Linked DNA regions of Homo sapiens: region 2 is linked to region 1. The links are contacts of gene promoters, found by promoter capture Hi-C in human tissues and cell types (Jung and others, 2019). All regions are on one chromosome and are shown on one strand. Each heading gives the region's core, a stretch centred on a gene start or on the middle of the fragment in contact. The rest is flanking DNA. Distances are from core to core; before and after follow the strand shown.

What was found. The method cuts DNA at HindIII sites, captures the fragments that hold promoters and counts their contacts. A contact is called where the count stands out against the background at its distance.
Region 2: a contact is called between a fragment that was not itself captured here and the fragment with the promoter of SREBF1 in region 1, in 1 of the 25 tissues and cell types used here (aorta).

The regions. Positions count from the first base shown.
Region 1 is chr17:17,834,218-17,839,258 of GRCh38, forward strand. SREBF1 (sterol regulatory element binding transcription factor 1) reads right to left here and starts at 2,769. Exons shown (of 19, transcript NM_004176.5): 1 at 2,510-2,769. The coding sequence starts at 2,600. RefSeq lists enhancers at 1,644-2,545, 2,546-3,448, 3,449-4,350 and silencers at 2,148-2,427, 2,618-2,777. The HindIII fragment of the contact is 17,140 bases long and covers 1-5,041 here.
Region 2 is chr17:18,883,790-18,888,740 of GRCh38, forward strand. The region is part of intron 7 of PRPSAP2 (phosphoribosyl pyrophosphate synthetase associated protein 2); the gene reads left to right. Among named protein-coding and RNA genes, the nearest start is that of PRPSAP2, 28 kb to the left of the region's middle. The HindIII fragment of the contact is 9,677 bases long and covers 1-4,951 here.

The DNA.
Region 1 (5,041 bases), core at 1,519-4,018:
AGTAGCTGAGACTACAGGCACATGTCACCCACACCCAGCTAATTTTTTATTTTTGTAGAGACAGGATTTTGTCATGTTGCCCAGGCTGGTCTCAAACTCCTGGACACAAGTCATCCTCTTGCTTCGACCTCCCAAGTGCTGGGATTATAGGTGTGAGCCACCACCCCAGGTCTAAAGATTTTATTTTCTTCTTTTTGCTCACTTGCATTTTCTAAGTTTTCTACAATGAAAAAAGATGTGTGTAATTGGGAAGAAAAACAGGAAGTTTGAATAAAAACTGAAAAATCCTCTACTGAAGTGGGTAAAGCTGAGCCCTGCCTAGTGAGAAGGGGCTGCCCCCAGTCTTCAAGGGGCTGGGACTGCCCCCACTCTCTCATAGACTAGACCTTGGGCCACATGGCTGCCCATGCCTGGCCTTTGGTTCTGGAGAGACAATGTTTTTATCCATGAGTCAGTAAGAAAGGTCTGTATCAGACCTCTGGCCCAGACCAGATTCTGTCAGTAAGAAAGGTCTGGGCTGGGAGCGGTGGCTCACACCTGTAATCCCAGCACTTTGGGAGGCTGAGGCGGGCGGATCACAAGGTCAGGAGATCGAGACCATCCTGGCTAGCACAGTGAAACCCCGTCTCTACTAAAAATACAAAAAATTAGCCAGGCGTGGTGGCTGGCGCCTGTAGTCCCAGCTACTTGGGAGACTAAGGCAGGAGAATGGCGTGAACCCAGGAGGAGGAGCTTGCAGTGAGCCAAAATTGCGCCACTGCAGAAAACAAACAAACAAACAAACAAAGGTCTGTATCAGACCTGTGGCCCAGAACGGGTTCTGTTGTCCAACTTGCCCATGAAGGGAGGGTTTGCATCATTTTTCTGGAGGTGGAAACTAAGGTTTAGAGGGTGAGAGGGCTTGAGCAGGATGACAAAGGAAGTGAGGAGTGTCCAGGTTCAAGTTCTGACCCCAAAGCGCATGTCCTCCTGGCTTGGTCACGTTGCCTCTTGGGACTACACTCACTGGGCCCAGTGATGTGGAACTGGTAGTTGAGTCAGGCCCAGATCTCCCTAGGGCTTGGGATTTCAGGGTTCATCACTCCAGAGGGCAGTGAAGGACAACCCCTCGTGCCAGGGATAGGGGAGGCTGTTTTGGAAAAGCCTCACAATCAGGGCCTCTCCTCTGGGGTCCTCCCCTAGCCCAGCCCCAGGGGGAAGGAGGGAGGGCTGGGAAGCTTCTGGGGCTGGCAACCAGCTGGGCTCATCTGCAAGGCTGCAGTAGGGCAGGAGTGGTGGTGGCATAGATATATCTGTTTTGCCAACCCCAGGGTGGCCACGGGTTCCATGGACATGTCCATTCAGGCTGTGAGTCTAGGCATCTTGTTCCTGCGACCTTGGCCTCAGTTTCCTCATCAACCAAGTGCAACTTAGCTAGTGCTGCTAAAACTCCTGCACAGAAACCATGCAGGCAATTTGCTAGGGGCTTCCGTTTGCTCTATCTACAAAATGGAAGCAACGGGCCTCCTAATTGGCACTTGGTGCCACCATTGGCCCCAAACCCCTTCTCATCACAGCCAGGGTGATGCTCCAAAGATGGAAGCCGGTGCCACTGTTCTGCTCCGCCCTTTCCCTGGCCGACCAAGTCGGTTTGCGTCCTCCTCCTCCCTGACCTCACTCCTTTGCAAGCCTCTAACTCCTCACACTTAGGCCCTGCCTCGAGGCCTTTGCCCTTCCCTTGCCGTGGCCTGGAAAACATCTTTCCTTGCTGGTCCTGGGGGTGACCCTCAGGTCTCAGCTTAGAAGTCCCTGACCGCTCTACCCAAAGTAGCCACATCCCTGCCCTCCCCCAGCCTCGCTCCACCCAAGGTACAACTAAATACCCGTTTGGTTTCCCGGGAGATTTTTGTGTTCCCTAAAAGAGGGGGTACCCAGGTCTGTCTGTAAACCCTCGGTGCCTAAGACGGGGCCTGGCATTCGGTGGATGTCAGTGAATGAGTGCGGAGGCTGTGCCCGTCGCAGACCGGGAGAACCCGACACGAGGCGGGGGAAGGGCGCGAGGCAGCGCCCATGCGCATGCGCAAGAGCTCCGACGCCGAGCTGAACTCTCGGGCCGGAGGGAATGACCGTGAGTAACCTCGCAATTACGTCACGGCTGGGGCTGGGGCGGAGCTTCGGCGACGCCTGGGTCCCCAGCTTCAGCCGTGGCCATCACAGGGCTGGAGAGTCACCGGTCGGGCGGCACCCGGCCTGGGACGCGTAGAGGCGCACGTGTCCCGGCCCGGAGCCGCCAAGGGACCCCGGCCCGGCCCAGGAGCCCTCACCCACAAGCGCGCGGCCCGAGACGCTAGCGCGGGAACCAGGGAGGCTCGGTGAGGCTCGGGACACCGAGCTCAGAGACACCGGGAAGTCCCGCGCGAGCACAGCACGGAGCTGGCGCCCGTGGGGGAGACAAAGGCCAGGGAGACACCTGCGCGCCCCCTACTCGCGCCACCCGGCGCAGCTTCAAGCCCTGCCCGCCCTGACGCACCTTCGATGTCGGTCAGCAGCGCCGCGTCCAGATCGCACGGCTCGCCCAGCGCCTGCTCCAAAGCCGCCTCGCTGAAGGGTGGCTCGTCCATGGCGCAGCCGCCTCCTCCGGGAGGCCCGCCGGGCCCGCCGCCTCGTACGGCCCTTCCTAGGGAGCGCCGCCGCGGCCCCGGCTCTCAGTCGCCGCCGCCGCTCCGCGCGTTCGTGTCCTGCCCTGGCCTCAGAGGCGGCCCGGCGCCGGCGAAAAGTTCCTCGGAAACTGGGTTCCCCCGGCCGCAGCTCTGCTGGGCGGTCGAGGCGGAGGCGGGGCCTTTCGGGGAGGACCCGCCCTCCCAGATAGACGGCCCCGCCCCACCTTGAGAGAGCGGGGGACCCCTGATCCCCGGTCTGCGCCACAAATCTCCCCTCAGCCGGCCCCTCCTCCAGAGCGCCCTCCAGTCATTCATTTTATCCAGCCTCGCGCACAATGGCAGCGGCCTCTGGCCGGCTGCTGCGGGAACGCGGGCAAGCCGAGCCCCCTCTCTGGGCCTCTGTTTCTCCAGCACCAAGCAAGGAAGCCGAGTGGAAGCCCCAGGCCTGGGCCCATCCCAAACTTCATTTCCTCATTTCCTAGATTTGACTCTTTAGAACAAGACAGACCAGGATCCAAGTTATAGGGGTCCCAGGCCTGCTGTGTTGTGAGCAGGCCTGATGTAACTGCTGGGCCAGTTACATCACTCTGCCTCAATTTTCCTCATTTGTAACATGGGCCTAATGATGCTTTCTCACGGGCAGGCTGGGAGGCTAGTGACAATGTGGAGGGGAGCATGACCTGTGAGATCAGCCTGCCCCCTCTCTGCAAAGAAACCAGAAGATTGGCCTCTTGAGGACAGGAGTGGCCAAAGAAAGAGGCTGGAATTTCGTCATCTGGTTTCCTCCCAGATCCAGCTGTAGGGATAGGATACCAGTGGGCCCAGTGCAGCTCCTGAAGGAGGAAGCCAGTACCCAAGGAAGACTGGCCCCAGGGCTGTCTGACCCCAGATTTGGCACTTATTCCCAGGAGCAGCCAGGATAGGGGCCGCAAGGAAGAGGTAGCTGTGCTTTAGATCAGAGCCAGGCTGCCCTGGATCATCACAAGCTGGGACTAGATCAGAGCAGGCAGCCCTGTTGAGAAGAGGGCTGGAAACCGAACCTGGTTCTGTGGCCTAGGGACAGAGCCAGGTGGGGCAGGAAGGAGGGAAGGGGTCCCAATGAGGTGGGTTGAAATAAACCAGAATTAACATTCAGGAATCTGAATGTGATAAGGCAGTGAGCTCCCTGTCCCCAGAGGTATGCAAGCAGAGAGAAGCACCCTTGGTGGAGGGCAGTCCAGGAAACTCATCAGGGGCCTGGGCCTCAGGCCTTCCCGACCCCAGACCTTCATAAGTCAAGCCATCCTGCAGACTGCCTTGCTCAAACTCCAGATATAGCCTATCTGGCCACGCCCTAAGCAGGAGTAACATTCATGATGCATTTTAGAAGGGGTGTGTGGGGGAGAGAAGCCACAGAGCCCAAGTCCCTGGGGCTCAGCCTGGACATCCAGCTCCCTTTGTTCCTCTCCCAGAAGTGGCTGCGGTGGAAAATTACCCAGAATAGCGGCGCCAGAAGTCATAGGGGTCGCCAAACCACATCTCCCCAAGTAGCCCTGCTCAAGGGTCCACCCAGGACCCACTCCCTCCAGATGAACAACTGCTGGAGAACACAGAGAACAAAGCTGGCTTCTCCTCAGTGCCCCACCCCCACCAACACTCTAGAGGCTGCAGGAAGCTGGTGACTTCCCTGAAAATTTAAACAGCCCTTCCCAGGGAGGGGGTGGGATAGGAAGTGCTGGGTGAAGCCTAAATACCATTTTCTTCAGAGCTAGGCAGGTGATCTGGGTTTTCACCTGCTTGCTGTGTGACCTGGATCCAATACCTCACTTCTGAGTCTCAGCTACTGTATCTATAAAATGGGAATAACCCTTTCTGCAGTCCCTCTGCAGAGGCAGGGAGGGTGTTTTGGAGTCATCATCACAACAGATCTGCCTCACTGTTTTTTGTTTTGTTTTGTTTTGTTTTTTGTTTTGAGACAAAGTCTCTCTCTGTCACCCAGGCTGGAGTGCAGCGGCATGATCTCGGCTCACTGCGACCTCCACCTCCCAGGTTCAAGCAATTCTGTCTCAGCCTCCTGAGTAGCTGGGATTACAGGCGCACGCCACCATGCCAGGCTAATTTTTGTATTTTTAGTAGAGATGAGGTTTCACCATTTTGGCCAGGCTGGTCTTGAACTCCTGACCTTAGGTGATCCACCTACCTCGGCCCCCCCAAAGTGCTGGGATTGCAAGTGTGAGTCACTGCACCTGGCTATCACTGTTTTTGTTGTTGTTGTTGTTGTTGTTGTTGTTGTTTTTAAGACAGAGTCTCGCTCTGTTGCCCAGGCTGGAGTGCAGTGGCACAATCTTGGCTCACTGCAACGTCGGCCTCCCGGGTTCAAGCATTTCTTTTCCCTCAGCCTCCCGAGTAGATGGGATTACAGT
Region 2 (4,951 bases), core at 64-2,563, 1.0 Mb after region 1:
CTGTATTTAAAAGATGGCAGTTTATAGGTTTCTGAGGAACTTCTTTCTGGTAAGAATACAGGGCTTCCCCATTCTCCAGCAATTGTTATAAGTCCTTATAGAGAAAATGAATTTAAGTATTTTTGAAAGAGAAAAATGTAAAATATTCTGCTTTTTTTTTTTCTTTAAAGTTACACACAAGAAACATAAAAACTCTACGCCAGGCGCAGTGGCTCACGCCTATAATCCCAGCACTTTGGGAGTCTGAGGCGGGTGGATCACTTGAGGTCAGGAGTTCAGACCAGCCTAGCCAACATGGTGAAACCCCATCTCTACTAAAAATACATAATTAGCTGGATGTGGTGGCGCGTGCCTGTAATCCCAGTTACTTGGGAGGCTGAGGCAGGAGAATTGCTTGAACCTGGGAGGTGGAGGTTACAGTGAGCCAGGATTGTGCCACGGCACTCCTGCCTGGGTGACAGAGCGAGACTATCTCAAAAAAACAAAAAAGAAAACAAAAATACTCTAACAAATTAAAAAAATAATAGAGACTTTAATTTTACCTGAAAAATTTTATGTTTTTTTTTTGAGACAGGGTCTTTCTCTGTCACCCAGGTTGGAGTGCTGTAGTGCCATGATAGCTCACTGCAACCTTGAACTCCTGGGCTCAAGAGATTTCTCCCACCTCAGCCTTCTGAGTAGCTGAGACTAGAGGTGTGCCACCACACCTAGCTAATTTTTAAAAAATATTTCCAGAGTCAGAATCTTGCTGTGTTACCCAGGCTGGTCTCAAACTCCTGGCCTCAAGCGATCCTCCTGCCTCAGCCTCCCAAAACAGTGTGATTACAGGTGTGAGCCACTGTGCCTGGCCTAATTTTACCTGAATATTATTCTTAGTTGAGAGAGAAGGTGAGATAAAATTGGCAAATGTCTTGATAGGGAAGGATGAAGAGGTTTAGGCAGAGAGAGAGTGAGAGGGTGAGCATTGAACGTGGTTCAGTTAGCAACCAGCCGCATGGAGAAACCTGTCATTTTGGAAGAAATAGAGCAGTCGCTATAGACTTATGTGGGTTGCTGTCGACATCTTGTTGTTTTAGGGGATGTTTCCATTCAGGACACAGGCATGTTGTGTGCCAATGTCTCAAGGCACAAATGGCAATTGCACCTCTTAAGGGATGCCCGGTGGGTGAGCCTAAAGAACGAAGGCTGGGGCACCCTTGTGCTGGTTGCAAGGTCAGGCTGGAAGCCTAACGCTAGTCATTGCCTGTAGTGCAGGCTTCTACCTGAGGATGACACTGCCTTCTACTTGAAAAAATCCCCATTTTAGTTTCATTGTTGAGAAGAAGTCAGGGCTGAGTGTGGTGGCCCACACCTATAATCCCAGCACTTTGAGAGGCTGAGGAGGTTGGATCAGTTGAGTCCAGGAGTTTAAGACCATCCTCGGCAATATGGCAAAACCCTGTCTCTACAAAAAATATAAAAATTAACCAGGTGTGGTGGTGCATTCCTGTGGTCCCCCCTACTCAAGAGGATGAGAAGTGGGAGGATTGCTTGAGCCTGGGAGGTTGAAGTTGCCCAGGTGGTCGAGGCTGCATCAAGCCGTGATCTGGGCGACAGAGTGAGATTCCTTCTCACAAAAAAAAAAAAAAAAAAAAAAAAAATTAATATGTGGGAACTCAGTGTTAAAAAGGAATTTTTGTGTATTGCTTTTTTCTTTTTTTTGGAGACAGTCTCTCTCTGTCACTCAGGCTGGAGTGCGATTTTGGCTTACTGCAGCCTCCGCCTCCTGGGTTCAAGCAAGCATATCTGGCTAATTTTTGTTTTTTGTTTTTTTTTGAGATGGAGTTTCGCTCTTGTTGCCCAGGCTGGAGTGCAATGGCATGATCTCGGCTCACAGCAACCTCCCCCTCCCAGGTTCAAGTGATTGTCCTGCCTCAGCCTCCCGAGTAGCTGGGGTTACAGGCATGTGCCACCACACCCGGCTAATTTTGTATTTTTAGTAGAGACAGGGTTTCTCCTTGTTGGTCAGGCTGGTCTCGAACTCCTGACCTCAGGTGATCTGCCCACCTTGGCCTCCCAAAGTGCTGGGATTACAGGTGTGAACCACCGCACTTGGCCTAATTTTTGTGTTTTTAGTAGAGATAGGGTTTCACCGTGTTGGCCAGGCTGGTCTTGAACTTCTGAACTCCAGTGATCTGCCTGCCTCAGCTTCCCAAAGTCCTGGTATTACAGGCATGAGCTACTACACCTGGCCTGTATTGCCTTTTTATAGTATACGTATCTTGTCTCTTTTGTTTTCGTGTGTTAGAGCCTCTTAAAGCAGGGGATAGATATTCATGTTTCACTGAATCTAAGGTGCTGTCAGTCCAGGCTTACATTATTTTACGTCACCAAGAAAGAAGAAAACACTGCTAATTATACTGTGGCACTGTGCCTTCTTGTCACTTAGTGATCCTATTCTGCAGGTTTTGATGCTGACGCTTTCTCCATCTCTTGTGTTTGTCACTGGAATTTAAGCACCTTCTGCCAGAGTCAGAAGGAACATTCTGGTACTAGGATGCTCGTTGCCTTGAAATTTTTGCCATCTATACTTTTTTTTTTTTTTGAGACGGAGTCTCACTCTGTCGCCCAGGCTGGAGTGCAGTGGCGCAATCTCAGCTTACTGCAAGCTCCGCCTCCCGGGTTCACGCCATTCTCCTAGGCCTCAGCCTCCCCAGTAGCTGGGACTACAGGCACCTACCACCACGCCTGGCTAATTTTTTTGTAGTTTTAGTAGAGATGGGGTTTCACCGTGTTAACCAGGATGGTCTCAATCTCCTGACCTAATGATCTGCCCGCCTCAGCCTCCCAAAGTGCTGGGATTACAGGTGTGAGCCACCGCGCCCAGCCAACTTTTGCCATCTCTTCTGAGGGCGTCTGACAGTGTCTGTTGCCTTCCGCTGCACTGCTGGGGATGTGTCAGGCAGTCCTTTTCACAGTTTGACCTACTGGTAGGGATCTTCCTTTCTTAAGTTTCATAAAGCATTTGATTGTTGCCTTGCAAGAAAATGTGGAATTGTATCATTTTTCCAGTGATGAATATTTGATTCATGAATATCAAATTATACTCTGATGGTCTCTTCCTGTGTCTTTCTGCATACATGATAATTTTTCTTTTCTTCTTTTTTTTTTTTTTTTTTTTTTTTGAGACGGAGTTTTGCTCTTGTTGCCCAGGCTGGAGTGCAGTGGCGCAATCTCAGCTCATCACAACCTCCGCCTCCCAGGTTCAAGCGATTCTCCTGCCTCAGCCTCCCGAGTAGCTGGGATTACAGGCATGGGCCCCCATACCTGGCTAATTTTGTATTTTTAGTAGAAAGGGGGTTTTCCATGTTGGTCAGGCTGGTCTTGAACTCCCAAACTCAGGTTATCCACCCGCCTCAACCTCCCAGAGTACTGGGATTACAAGCGTGAAGCCACCGTGCCCGGCTTGATAATTTTTCATTTTAATGAAAAATTTTAATGAAAAGAATCATAGTAATTCTTTCTGGAGACATTTTAAATGGGTTCAAACAATTCTCCTGGGTTCAAACAATTCTCCGGCCTCAACCTCCTGAGTAACTGGATTACAGGTGTGCACCACCACGCCTGGCTAATTTTGTTTTGCATTTTTAGCAGCGAGGGGGTTTCACCATGCTGGCCAGGCTGGTCTTGGCTCAGATGTTCTGCCCACCTTGGCCTCCCAAAGTGCTGGGATTATGGGCATGAGCCACCGTGCCTGGCCATCTTTGGGAATTTTTTTTAATCTGTTAAGTATTTCATCCCTTCTATTTCTTTTATTATTTTCCTTTGGGAACTATTAGGTCCTGAAAATTTTGGATCTAGTCTCTATAACTTTTAAAAACTTATTTTACTTTTTGCATACTTATATATAGCATTCTGGGGAAATTCCTTGTCTTGATCTTCCCTGGTTTGTTCTTAAAGTTGTGTTTATTCTGCTGTTAAGCCAGCCAGCTACTGGGTTTCTTTAGACCATAATAACTTCTTCCCCCTAGATTTATTTTTGGTTCTTTTTCATAATAACTTGTTCTTTCTTTTTTTTTTTTTTAATTTATTTTTTTATTGATAATTCTTGGGTGTTTCTCACAGAGGGGGATTTGGCAGGGTCATGGGACAATAGTGGAGGGAAGGTCAGCAGATAAACAAGTGAACAAAGGTCTCTGGTTTTCCTAGGCAGAGGACCCTGCGGCCTTCCGCAGTGTTTGTGTCCCTGATTACTTGAGATTAGGGATTGGTGATGACTCTTAACGAGCATGCTGCCTTCAAGTATCTGTTTAACAAAGCACATCTTGCACCGCCCTTAATCCATTTAACCCTGAGTGGACACAGCACATGTTTCAGAGAGCACAGGGTTGGGGGTAAGGTCACAGATCAACAGGATCCCAAGGCAGAGGAATTTTTCTTAGTGCAGAACAAAATGAAAAGTCTCCCATGTCTACTTCTTTCTACACAGACACGGCAACCATCCGATTTCTCAATCTTTTCCCCACCTTTCCCGCCTTTCTATTCCACAAAGCCGCCATTGTCATCCTGGCCCGTTCTCAATGAGCTGTTGGGCACACCTCCCAGACGGGGTGGTGGCCGGGCAGAGGGGCTCCTCACTTCCCAGTAGGGGCGGCCGGGCAGAGGCGCCCCTCACCTCCTGGGCGGGGCGGCTGGCCGGGCGGGGGGCTGACCCCCCCACCTCCCTCCCGGACGGGGCGGCTGGCCGGTCGGGGGGCTGACCCCCCACCTCCCTCCCGGACGGGGCGGCTGGCCAGGCAGAGGGGCTCCTCACTTCCCAGTAGGGGCGGCCGGGCAGAGGCGCCCCTCACCTCCCGGACGGGGCGGCTGGCCGGGCAGGGGGGCTGACCCCCCCCACCTCCCTCCCGGACGGGGCGGCTGGCCGGGCAGGGGGGCTGACCCCCCCCACCTCCCTCCCGGACGGGGCGGCTGG